Linked DNA regions of Homo sapiens: regions 1 and 2 are each linked to region 3. Evidence: promoter capture Hi-C in human tissues and cell types (Jung and others, 2019). All regions are on one chromosome and are shown on one strand. Each heading gives the region's core, a stretch centred on a gene start or on the middle of the fragment in contact. The rest is flanking DNA. Distances are from core to core; before and after follow the strand shown. Region 1 holds the start of LOC105376812 (a long non-coding RNA gene). Region 2 has its middle 4.6 kb from the start of LINC01654. Region 3 holds the start of IGSF21 (immunoglobin superfamily member 21).

Evidence for each region. The method cuts DNA at HindIII sites, captures the fragments that hold promoters and counts their contacts. A contact is called where the count stands out against the background at its distance.
Region 1: a fragment that was not itself captured here is called in contact with the fragment with the promoter of IGSF21 in region 3 in 3 of the 25 tissues and cell types used here (dorsolateral prefrontal cortex, liver and spleen).
Region 2: a contact is called between a fragment that was not itself captured here and the fragment with the promoter of IGSF21 in region 3, in 4 of the 25 tissues and cell types used here (dorsolateral prefrontal cortex, liver, spleen and 1 more).

The regions. Positions count from the first base shown.
Region 1 is chr1:18,042,528-18,046,586 of GRCh38, forward strand. It overlaps LOC105376812 (a long non-coding RNA gene), which reads left to right and starts at 1,227. Exons shown (of 3, transcript XR_947008.3): 1 at 1,227-2,028; 2 at 2,358-2,708. The HindIII fragment of the contact is 3,717 bases long and covers 73-3,789 here.
Region 2 is chr1:18,059,118-18,063,053 of GRCh38, forward strand. No RefSeq gene overlaps it. Among named protein-coding and RNA genes, the nearest start is that of LINC01654, 4.6 kb to the right of the region's middle. The HindIII fragment of the contact is 4,771 bases long and covers 1-3,936 here.
Region 3 is chr1:18,106,358-18,110,558 of GRCh38, forward strand. It overlaps IGSF21 (immunoglobin superfamily member 21), which reads left to right and starts at 1,441. Exons shown (of 10, transcript NM_032880.5): 1 at 1,441-1,841. The coding sequence starts at 1,772. The HindIII fragment of the contact is 17,740 bases long and covers 1-4,201 here.

The sequences.
Region 1 (4,059 bases), core at 681-3,180, 63 kb before region 3:
ACTACAGGCGCCCGCCACCAAGCCCTGCTAATTTTTTTTTTATATTTTTAGTAGAAACTGCGTTCACCATGTTACCCAGGATGGTCTTGATCTCCTGACCTAGTGATCCATCTGCCTCGGCCTCCCAAAGTGCTGGGATTACAGGCGTGAGCCACCGCGCCTGGCCCATCAGGGATTCCCTCTCAAAACAGGGAGGGGAAAAGGATGTTTCATGTGCCCCAAGGCCTCAGAGGGCATCTTCGTGCCCAGGAAAAAGATTAAGATGGGGAATTGTTGAGGTTCTGGGGTCAGTGTAGTTCTAGAAAAGAGGCACGTTTATAAATTGTGGCAGGCAGGGTAAAGAGGAGGGTACAGAACAGTAACCTCTGTCAGCCCCTTCAAAGCTGCTACAAAGCTGCCTGGATAAGGACACCGCCCACCAGATACTCAGCAGAATCACTGGGGCAGTGATGCCCTCCTGGCACAGCAGCAGACGCCCAGCTCTTTGTAAACCCAGGGAAGGAAGGTGCCACCTTAAGGGAACTCCCAGGTTGATGAGCACAGGGCTGCAGGGAGAACCCAGACATTAGGACCTGATGGCCTGATGAGGTGGTGGAGGACAGAGCCCATGACCTCCTAGGTACTGAGAGCTCCCAGGCTGAGGAGAAAGCTCCAGCTCTTGTTTCACAGGGAAGTCCCCAGTGAAATAGGGGAAGGAGGACCTACATAAGCACAGGAAGCTCCGACGCAGAAGTCCTCTTCACTCTCAATTCTGCAGTCACCAAACCTGGCACCTCTTACCCATCCCCAGACTTGTGCCAAGGGGTCTCGCAGAGGAGCCTTCCCTACTTTCAATGCTTACTGTGTTGCTTTCAAAGCTTGGTCCCCGCATCTAGTCTGAATTCTCTGACTGCCTTGGGTCCCTCAGAAAGAGACATCTGACCCCACTTCACTTCCACTTAACCTGCACTGTCCCATCCATCCCCATCACCCCTCTCCCCAATTCCACCCCACCCATCTGTACCACCCATCCCTGCAGCTTCTCAGCTCCCTAGTGTCCTCACCTTTGTACATGGCTTCCAGCAATGGAACCCCTGTTTGTGAGCTCATCACTTGTCGAGGGCTGGGCTCCTGATCTCATCAGCTTCATCTCTCAGCTCCTAACACAGTGCCCAGCCACTATGTTTATCTCACATTAGCTACATGGCCCATGTATGTTATCTCATCAATACATAGGAGACCAAGGCTCTGAGAAGCCTGACAACTCGCTCCCCCATCACCCGGGGAATTCTTGTCATCCCTTACGTCACAGCCTAAATGTCCCTTCCTTGGGGAAACTCTCTCTGACATCCCCCACCGCACCCCATCCTCCCCACTCCAATGCAGCATCTTGTGCATCTCTGTAGCACTAATCACAGTGGCATTTAATGAGTTGTTTCTGCAATGGTTTGCTCTCTCCCCACTCATGCATATGCTCCTCAAGGGATGGCAACATGTCTCTATTGTTTACCACCCTGTCCTGAATGCAGGGGCCCTGACTCAGAGAAGACTCCGGGTAATTATTTACCATTTGAAGAATGAATGGCTTCCTAAGTTTGTGCACCTAGAGCTCTCTGGCCTTCAGCTGCTTCATCTGTAAGTAGGCGGAGCCTTAGGTCCCCAGGACTAGCTCACTCTTAAGATGACTTCTCATTCTTAGGTCCTAGAAAATGCTTTTTAAAATTCCATCTTCCTTTCCCAAATGGAAACAACAATGTCATACCAATCAGGTTGGAAAAAAAATGAGAAATTTGGATAATGCCATGTGCTGAGTACCAGTGTCCTCGAAGAAACCTGTCAGTATTCAGGGAAATGAAGTACTGCACGCCTTCTGACCCCACCATCCCACTCCTGGGGAGACTCCGGGGAAACACTCACGTGGTCCCAGTGGGTCACCCACATGGTGGGGCATCGGAGGCAATCTAGTGTCCACCCCTGGAACAGCGGACATCTCTAGAGAAACTCTGCAGCAGTCAGAAACATCGAATGAGATAATGCACAGCAACTCAGGTAGATCTTAAAAACATGGTGTTAAGTGAAAAAATTAAGCAACAGAATGAGATCTATAGCCCAATACAATTTATGTAAATTAAAACACATTCGCACAATAAACAACACCATATATTTTATAGGCACCATCCGTATCTGAGGACATATATTAGAGATTTTAGAGTGGAGCTACAGAGGGGGCAGTCAGGAGGGGCCAGGCAATAGCATCAGGGAGAAGGAGAAAAATCGAACAAAGCAAAACAAGAGTGAGGCTGTGTGAGATCAGGATGTTAATGGATGGTGAGTTGAACGTTGTGTTGGACTTGGACTAATCCAACTCTCTTTTCAAGGTGAATGTAATGACTGATTAACGAACGAAGACTCCACCTTCTCTTCCTCTCGTGGATCCCAGCGAACTTCCAGGGCATGGGTTGGCATAGGTTTGAAGAAGGTTTCTCGGCCTCTGCACTGTCTACATTTTGGGCCCGCTGAGTCTTTGTAGTTGGGGCTGGCCTGTGCATTGTAGGATGTTTAGCAGTTTCCCTGGTGTCCACCTACCAGATGCCAGTTGCACCTACCAAGTTCTGACACCCAAAATGTCTTCAGACATCGCCAAATGTCCCCTGGGGGACAAAAATCACCCCTGGTTGAGAACCACTGGGTTGGAATACAAGCCTGAAAAACCGCTCCCAGTCTGCCAGGTAAGTGACCCACACTTGCTTTACAAAACCCCATGCACGGAGCAACAGAACCTTGGGACCTGGGACTAAGCTTGTAGCTCCGTGTTGAAAGCCTGCAGCGTCACTTGCATTTTAAATCAAGGCTCGGTGGAGATTCCAGTTACAGCCTGCAACTGCATCTGCCTTGGGCTTCCTCCTAATTTTAACCAGCAGCTGGATTTGCATAGGACATTTGCATCTGAAATTACCCATGATTCTTTGGGAGCCATAGTCTACAGCAGATGATGGCAAAAAATATATATAATTCCATTTCAGCTTGCAAAGTAGGGGGGAGGAAGGAGATGAAGACTTCAGGGAGGGAGGGTACTTTAAGAAAATTTCAGTGCTTTATATAATTGGTTAGAGAGGTTGGAAATAGATGCCCTGCTGGTCACTGGCAGAGAGAACTGTCCTGGCAATTCGTATGTGAATTAATGACTCAAAGAGTGAATGCATGAGGTCCCCTGAGACTCCCCCAGGAGCGAGCTACTGACCCAAGTGGAGGCAGGCAGAGGAGAGGGAAGGATGGTGCAGACCTGTGTACAGAACAGCACACAGCCCAGCCCCAGGCCTCCAGGAGCCCAGCCACCCGCTAGCACTGGCCGGCCCGGGAGCCTGCCACATGCCCGAGAGCACTCACTAAGTGCCTTCCCACCGTGGGCCATTTCATCACACAGCCCCACCCCTCTTGATGAAGGCATCGTTCCCCTCATTTAGAAGAGGAGGAGGTGGAGATTCCCAAGTCTCACTCTCAGTAAAGAGCAGAGCCTGAATTGGAAGGAAATTCTGCCAGACTCTAAAACCAGTGCTCCTTCCACTAAGACCCTCAGTGGGTCATTTGCTGACTTGCAAAGTTAATATACAGGCAAAAGCATGGCAGGTCATGCCAACAGGAGCAGACGACCCCTCCTTTACAGTTCAGCAGTTTCTGCTCAACCCAAGATTTGGCCAGGCCTGGGTTCCAGAATGTAAAAGCAGACATCTGCAAGCCATGCCCTAAATTCCAGGTGAGGTGTGTCTGTGCCACATGGGCTAAGGCTTAACTGGCACCTTCCTGGTTGCCATCTGCAGACACCAAGGTTAACCACACCCTCCACTTGCTGCCCCAGGGCCTTGCAGTCCTCTGTGATTGCATTACTTATTCTTTCTACATCTCTCTCCCCTACTAGACCGTAACATCTTGGGGGCAGAGATCATGACCGGCTCATCTATGTCTCTATCCCAGAGCTCCAGAAATATATGTGCTATAAACTGAGCTAATTTGGGGCTGGGAGCAGGAGACTAACCAATCTGTGTCATTCCAGTTGAAATGCTATCTTGTCCAGGAATAGTT
Region 2 (3,936 bases), core at 862-3,361, 47 kb before region 3:
TTGGGTCTGAGTGAAAGGACATCTCAGCACACCGAACTGAAATGAGAGCATCCAGCTCTGTGTAATCCTGGCTCTGCACTTAGCAGCTGTATTACAGGCCAGGGCTGCTCTAACAGGGTCCCACAAATGGGAAGCTTAAGCAGTCAGAAATGTATTGACTCAGTGCTGGAGGCTTGAAGTCTGAGATCAAGGTGTCTGCAGGGTTGCATCTTTCTGAGTGCTACAGGAAGAATCTGTTCTAGCTCTCTCACTGGGTGTTTTGCTGGCACTCTTTGGCATGGCTTGACTCATAAAGGCACCATCCTGCCTGCCTTCGCTTTACGTAGTGTGTGTCTGAGTGTGTGTCTTCTCCATATTTACATTTCCCCATTTTACGAGGGCACCGGTCATGTTGGATTAGGCTTTACTTTGATGACCTCCTTTTAACTTGATTATCTCTGTAAAGACCCTATTTCCAAATAAGCTCACATTTCTGAGGCACTGGGGGGTTAGGACTTGAACACGTGAATTTTGAGGGGATGGGATCCAACCTATAGCACAAGGTGTGGCCCTGGGCAAGTCACATCACCTGTTAGGTCCTGAGAAAGGTTCATCTTGAAAGTGGGGGTAAAAATTGCCACATCCTCAGGGGATTGTTGTAAGGACCGAATGAGACAAGGTGTATAGGTTGGTTAGCCCAAGGCTAGCTATAGTGGAGTTGATAATCATAGCTGCTGTGAATTTCTGCTTGAGGGAGGGGACCATGATCATTGATGCATTTACTCTCAATGGACGAAGTAAAAGGAAAGGTGGAAAGTAAACTGTCAAGCCTCTTGGGGTTCCTCGTTGCTGTAACCTGCCTCCTAGCAAGCCCAATAGGGCTACACTTTTGCCATTCATTCACCAACTCCATCAATCTATTTGACAAGTGCTGTGTGCGTTCTATTTCATTTAATCATTACAAAAGTATTAGGTTGGTGCAAAAGAAATCACAGTTTTGCCATAAAAGTCATGGCCAAAAGTGCCATTACTTTTGCACCAACCTAATATTAATATTATTATTACCAATTAACAGATGAGGAAATTGGGGCTTTGGGTGGTGGCATGGCCTGCTCATAGTTCCACGGCACAAGGAATGGTGGGGGCCGGGATCACTGGTTTGGTGGCGTGTTTGTACGCGCAACTGCAGGGATACCTGCCTGGGGCAGCTTGGCCTTTTCTCTCCGCATGGGCTCCACATATCCTTTGAGCCAGAGCTCCCTGACCGCCTTTGCAGCCCATCCCTGGAGGGAATTCACAGTAGTTATGATTACCAACCCCACTATAGCTAGCCTTGGGCTAACCAACCTACACATTGTCTCATTCAGTCTTTACAACAATCCCCATGGGAACTCACACTCCCGCGTTGTTGGCACTGGGCACTGCGAGCCTTTGGATTGCACCCCAGCACCCAGCCCTGGGTTATAATTTTTTGTATTTATGTCTTTCCTTTGCTTGTCATCAGGCTGTTTATCGGCACGCGGCGACGCATCACTCGTACGTGTTAAATATATATACGTCTCTGTGTGTCTGTGTATGCCTTCCCGGTTCTATTTATGCAGTTCCTCGGAGGATTAATTTAGCCAAATAACCGAAGTTATTTAGGTAGCTGACATTCACACTGGAAAGAGAATGTGGGAACGAAGTCAGCGAGGCACTGGCTCTGTTCCCAGGCCCCCCGGACTCAGTTTCCTTCAAATTAAGGTCTGGTGTGGTGGAAAGTGCAGGAGCTCATCTAGTCAAATGTTCTAAACCAGGCCCTGTGATGGTGAGCTATGGATGCTGGGAAAAGTCCAAAGCTGAGCCTCAGTTTGTTCAGCTAAAAAGAGGCCTTTTTTTCTTACAGAGAACATGCAAGCTTTGATTGATTTAATGAATTTAAAGCTTTTTGTTCACTGTAGGCATTTATTTGTTAGTGGCACTCTCTCCTCTTTATGTCTCTGTGTCTGTGCCAAGTGATGCGTAAGATGAAATGGAAATTCCCGGCCGGGCGGAGTGGCTTATGCCTGTAATCCCAGCACTTTGGGAGGCCGAGGCAGGTGGATCATAAAGTCAGCAGTTTGAGACCAGCCTGGCCAATATGATGAAAACCCTTCTCAGCTAAAAATACAAAAAGTAGCCGGGTGTGGTGGGGCATGCCTGTAGTCCCAGCTACTCAGGAGGCTGAGGCAGGAGAATCACTTGAATCTGGAAGGTGGAGGTTGCAGTGAGCCGAGATCACACCACTGCACTCCAACTAGGCAACAGAGTGAGACACCATAAAATAAATAAATAAAATAAAATAAAATTCCTTGTGTTGGCACCTGAGGTCCTTGGTATTCTGACATTCTGATCCTTGTTGATCTTCCTTTCTCTGGAAGTGTTACTCTCACTGTGCCTGGACATGATATAATTCAGTTGGGATGGTTGATGTTGCTGGTGCCCTTTTAAGTCTCTTCCTGGAGCTCATCGTTCCTGTGTATGGTGACTCTATGGCTTCTACAAGCCAGCATACTGGAGGGCTTTCTTTGGTGGTCAGATCCCAACTCACATGCCAAAGGGGCAGGCTGGAGGTGGGAGCAGCTTCCACACAAAACAACCCCCAACCACCAAAGTAGGAAAATGGTACATACACACCCCAGTCGTTCATTCATCGAATAACTCACAGGCCTGTTCTGTGCTCTCACCTGCTGCTTCCCAGCAGGCTGGAACTCTGGTTGCCCCCTGCGGAAACCTGCTCCATAACACTCTTAGTTGGCTTCCTTCTCTTCTCTTCCATGTTTCACTCCCTCATTCTCCTACAGGTGTGTCTGGAAGCCACTTCAAAGTAAACTCTATGCACTCAAATCCTTGTCTTAGGGTGTCCTTTTGGAAAATCCCAACCTAAGACAAGGTAGGATTGTGAGCATTAATGGTCTGAACTCTGGGGTACAACCACCTGTCTTTGAATTCTGCTTCAAGAGTCAGTGAGAAGTTATTTAGCCTTTCTGAGCCTCAGTTTCTTCATTTGTAAAGTAGGGCCAGTAATGACAGTACCTGACCCAACAGAGGCATGAGATAAACCACAGAGATAGACAGGGTCCTGTCCCTCTCTGGCCACTTACCCTACTTCAGTTTGTTCCAAAACTCCCTTCACCCAGTTCACCTTGGGGATTCCATTATTTGTTGATTTGCACATTGTCTTCTTCACATAGACTGTCCCCACCTCATCTAGATGATCAATGTTGTGAGTGGGGGTCTCTGTCACTCTTGTTCACTGCTGTTTCTCAGGACCATGGACAGCGCCAAGCCCACTCTACTTTCCCAGCATGATCAGATCTCTCATTGCTCTCTCAGTGGCCCCCACGAGTGCTTTACCCATTCCTGGCTCTGATTTTGCTCTAGCACACTTCCTAGCACCTTGGATTCCTGTTCTATCCAACTCTATCCTTTTTTTTTTACTTTTTTTTTTTTTTTTTTTTGAGACGCAGTCTCGCTCTGTTGCCCAGGCCGGAGTGCAGTGGCGCCATCTCGGCTCACTGCAAGCTCCGCCTCCCGGGTTCACGCCATTCTCCTGCCTCAGCCTCCCGAGTAGCTGGGACTACAGGCGCCCGCCACAGCGTCCGGCTAATTTTTTGTATTTTTAGTAGAGACGGGGTTTCGCTGTGTTAGCCAGGAAGGTCTCGATCTCCTGACCTCGTGATCCACCCGCCTCGGCCTCCCAAAGTGCTGGGATTACAGGCGTGAACCACCGCGCCTGGCCCAACTCTATTCATTCTTTATAGCTCAGGAAGTGATCTCACTCTTGGTCATGGCTGACTGGATCTGGGATCAAGGCCTGAACCAAAATCATCCGCCTGTAGGCTGATGGGAAGCCTGTGAGTTGGCCTGGGTTGGGGGTTCAACCCCAGCCTAGCAACAATAAGTCACTGGTATTGAGCACATTCTGCACACCAGGCA
Region 3 (4,201 bases), core at 191-2,690:
ACACCTATTTATAAGGGTTTATTATGATCATTATTATTATTTTACTGAGAGGATCATTCTAAAGCCTGTCAGGTGAACGTATGCTTTCAGATCTTCATAAATGCAAATCGCTCCTTCTGGGGTGGGTGAGCAAGCTGAGCCGCAGAGCTGCCTTGGGAGGCGATGGGGTGAGGTTCCAGAGGGCAGGAGGAGGGAGCAGTTCACTTTCATGGACATCTCTGCACAAAGCTCACCCAGAGGCAGCCCAGCAACCACCCATTGCCCACCCCACTCCCTACACTCCTCTCAGAGGGCTGCTGGAGATGGAACTGGCTATAGACCCATTGCCCATGTAGGTAAACGATGCAACAGCCTGACTCAGCAACCTGCCAGAGCTAGGGAAGCTGGAGATTCTCCATAGAAGGCCTGGGTAAAGGGACCCACCTGAGTTCTGAGCAGGTTTTGCCCCTGGTCGTGCTGGTTTTTCTGGGCTTTGCCAATCTTCTGGGTCCCTACCAATGGTGAAATTCTATCTCCTGAACTTCCTCATCTAACCACATCCCCAGTCCACTCCAAGGGCTAGAGTACCCCTCCCCTTCATCCTCGCAGGAGGCCTCAAAGTCCACCGCCAGGGCTGAGGCTCAATGGTGTGTGTGTGTGTGTGTGTGTGTGTGTGTGTGTGCTCGCGTGTGTGTTGGTGGGAGAGTAATGGTAACATACAAGTCCCAAACCTGTTCTTCTCGGACCTGGGAAGAAAAGCTGTCAGGTCTGGCAAAAAGGTGGAAACTTGGTCTCTGCCAGGAGGAAACAATCAGTTCCTCACCCTTCCTGGCTGGATCCTAGCACATGGGAAAAAGACAGAACACACCCCATTTCCGTGGGTCCCTGGGGGAAGGAGCAGCCGTAATTGGGGAAGTTTCAGAACATGGAAACCCCTTAATCTTGCCCAATGAGGGCATTCATCGTTGGCAAGGTCAGAACTCCAGAGCCACACCCTGCCTGCCCTGCTCCCAGGATGGCATCTTTCCCTCTCGGGAGGGAGGCTGCCTCCTTTCATCAGGCTGAGTAGCGGGGAGGGCGATGGTAATCCCGGGGATAGGAGGGGCTAGGTAAAGGCGGATCCGATGGAGCATAGCTTCCAGGGCGGGGTGTTGGGTCACCTGGGTAAGGGTTAAGAAGCTGGAGGCAGCAAGCCAGTTTTGAGTGAGGGGGGACCTGAGTGAGGGGAGAGGGGAGGTTAGGAGGGGGTGAGCTCTCCTTCTCCCTGCAATAAATCGGCTTAGCGGACGAGAGCCGAACAGCCCAGAAAGGATTAAAGAAAAGTCTGTATAATACGCGGAGAGCGCGGCGAGGGGAGGGCAAGGAGGGCGGGGGGGCGGGGAGAGGGGGAGGGACGGAGGGAGGGCGAGAGGAGGGGGGTGCTCGCGCCGCCGGGAGAGGCGAGCGCGAGGCAGAGAGCGCGATTCGGCTCCAAACTCCGGCGCTGCAGCCGATCGGACTCTGGGCCGCGGTGGGCACCGCGCGCAGCTAGGGAGCCGAGAACCGCGGCGAGCCCCGAGGACGCCCAGAGCGCGAGGGTCGCTGCGCCTCGCAGAGCCGGAGCCGAGTCGAGCCGGGCGCCCGGGCTGCCTGGCCGCGGCGGCATGGGGGCGCCCCCGCGGCTCTCCGCGCTGCCCGCCACCGCCTCGGCCAGTGGCCGGAGGCAGGAGCGCGTCTGAGCCCATGGCGAGGGGACCCGCCGCCACCGCCTCCACCCCCGCCGCCCCGCCACCGCCGCCAGCTCCCGGGCACCATGCGAACCGCCCCGAGCCTCCGCCGCTGCGTCTGCCTGCTGCTCGCCGCGATCCTGGACCTGGCGCGCGGTGAGTGCGCGGGCGCCTGGCGGGAGCCGAGCGGTGAACGTGCGCGGGGACGGGGTGCCGGGGGAGGGCGCTGGCCGGGGTCGCTCCGAGAGGCTCGGGCTACGAGCACCGGTCCTGCCCGGGGTCTGTGGAGCTGGTTGGCTCGATGAGGGAGGGAGGACGCCTCTTGGAGAGCGCTCATGGATTTGTGCCAGGGTGTGTGTGTGTGTGTAAATTGTGTGTCTTTGTTGTGTGTCTGGGTGAGGGTGTCCGGGAAGGAGCTGTGTGGGCAGAAGGTGCGGGAGTGTATTTAGAGATGCAAGTGTGTGTGTGCGTGTGTGTGTGATGGTGTGGGGTCTGCGTGTGAGTGAGCGAGGGTCTGGATGGGTGTTAGAGTGTCTGTGTCAGTTACATGGAGAAGGTGTGTGTGTGAGAGTGTGAGCGAATGTTGGGGGGAGGGTGTGAACATGTGCCACCTTCCCTGTGAGGGTGTGAAGTGTGTGAGCTTGTGTCACTGTGGGTGTGAGGTGTTAGGGGGTGGGTATGTGAGGTTTGGCGTTTCACGTGTGTCCCGAGTGTGCAGGTCTCTAGGGGTGTACGACAGCGGATTACTATTTCTGTGTGCACAGGAGATGGGACTGTGACACTGGACAAGAGTCTGCTTATGTGGGATGGGTGGGGGTGCAGGTGCCTGGGAGTCGTGGGCTTCATGGGGCTGGGAGTGTGTGTATGCGTGCCATGGAGCGTGTGGTTATCGTGTGCAGGGAGGTATGGACGCTTCCGGGGCTGGGGAGTTGTGAGCAGCTCAGTGTGTGTGTGTGTGTGTGTGTGTGTGTGTCCCGCCGTGTGGACTTGCTCCCGGGTTAGGCTAAGACAGCTAGAAGGAGGTTGAAGCCGAGCGGGTTCTCCGGAGCCAGTGAGAGGTGGCTCCGCAGCCCCAGGGTCCGCGGCCGGCCTCCCACCCAGTGCCGCCGCGTAGTGGGTCTTAAATGGAGCTGAACCCTTTCGCGCAGTGAGCAGAGAGCCAACGTGAGGCTAAAAGCCAGGAGGGAGGGAGGCGGGACCAGCGAAGAGCCGCAGGCACCGAGACTACAGGCTCCGCGTCCGGGATCCTCCTCGGAGCCTGGTGCCAACCTCAGCCTGGCTGGAGTCAGAGCCTGGCTCCGCCTCGGAGGGGAGCGGGACGCGAGGTGCCAAAAAGTCGTCTTTATGATCAATAAGGTCTCGACCCCGAGCCCCACTGGATGATAGAGGTGGGCATCACCTCTGTCCTATGCCATAGCCTTGTCCCAGCAGGAGGTGCCTACCTAGGCTCTGAGAGTGCCTGCCAGGAAGGGGTGCCCCCTTAAAAATAACCCCAACTCCTTCTACCCCGAAGTCCTTGGGGAGTGCTGGGTCTGCTGATGGGAGAAGCTGCAGAATTTGAGCCCGGAAGGTGGTCCTGACAGCGAGGGGGGAGGGGTTGGTGTAACCCAGAAGGAATGCAAACCCTGTACTTTGTTCCCCTACCCTTGGAACAAGAGACTTTCCTAAGTGGATCAAAATGTCCCCCCTCAACTTTGGGAGGAGGGCTCTAGAGGGAAAGGTTACATGGGGGAGGTCCTCGTTCCAGCGCCGCCGAGAGGGCACTGGGGTTTGTTGAAAGGCACTGGAGCCCTCACCTGGACATTGCAGGGGGCGGGGGTTGGAGGCTGGGGACCTAAGGTAAGCACCCCTTTCCCTGGGAATGCGCAGAACAGAGAGACGCGGCAGGGTGAAGGAGAGGACTGATGAGAAGGGCTTGTTGGGAAACCCTGGCTCCGTCAGGACCCCACCCTGCGAGCTCTCCCTGGAACCCGGGAGCAGGGTTCTTCTGGCTGCCCGGCTGCAGAGAGCTGACCCGGCATCCTGACGCCTCAAATCCCTTTGCCCGCCTCTGCGGGCTGCGGGAGGCGGGGGTTGGCGTGCCTGAGGGTGAGCGCATCTGGGCCGGTGCAGCCAGCGCGGCCTCGGAGCTCCGCTGCTCAGGATGAAGGAAGAGCGCAGACGCGGATCGCGAATGGGAAACTTTCCGCGTCTGGGGCGCAGAGGGAGATCCGAGGCAGCCGGGAGCCCTCTCTTCTCCGCAGAGGAGAGCACACGAGGGTGGGGTCCCTCCTTCCTCCTTCCAAGTCTGTGCCCAGAATGGGGGGCGGGGTGCGAGAAGAGTCCGTGAGAGACGCAAGAGGCGGGCTGTGCCGGAGGAGGGCGCCCTTCCTGGAGGTGGCCGAGAGAGGTGCACCTGGCAGCGGCTTTGCAGGGCCACCTGCCTCCGAGGGCGCAGAGAGGAGCAACCCGCGCCGGCCTTCACGAACGTACTGGCGGTCACTGCTCGGGGAGGGGCACGGCCAGAACGCCCTCGC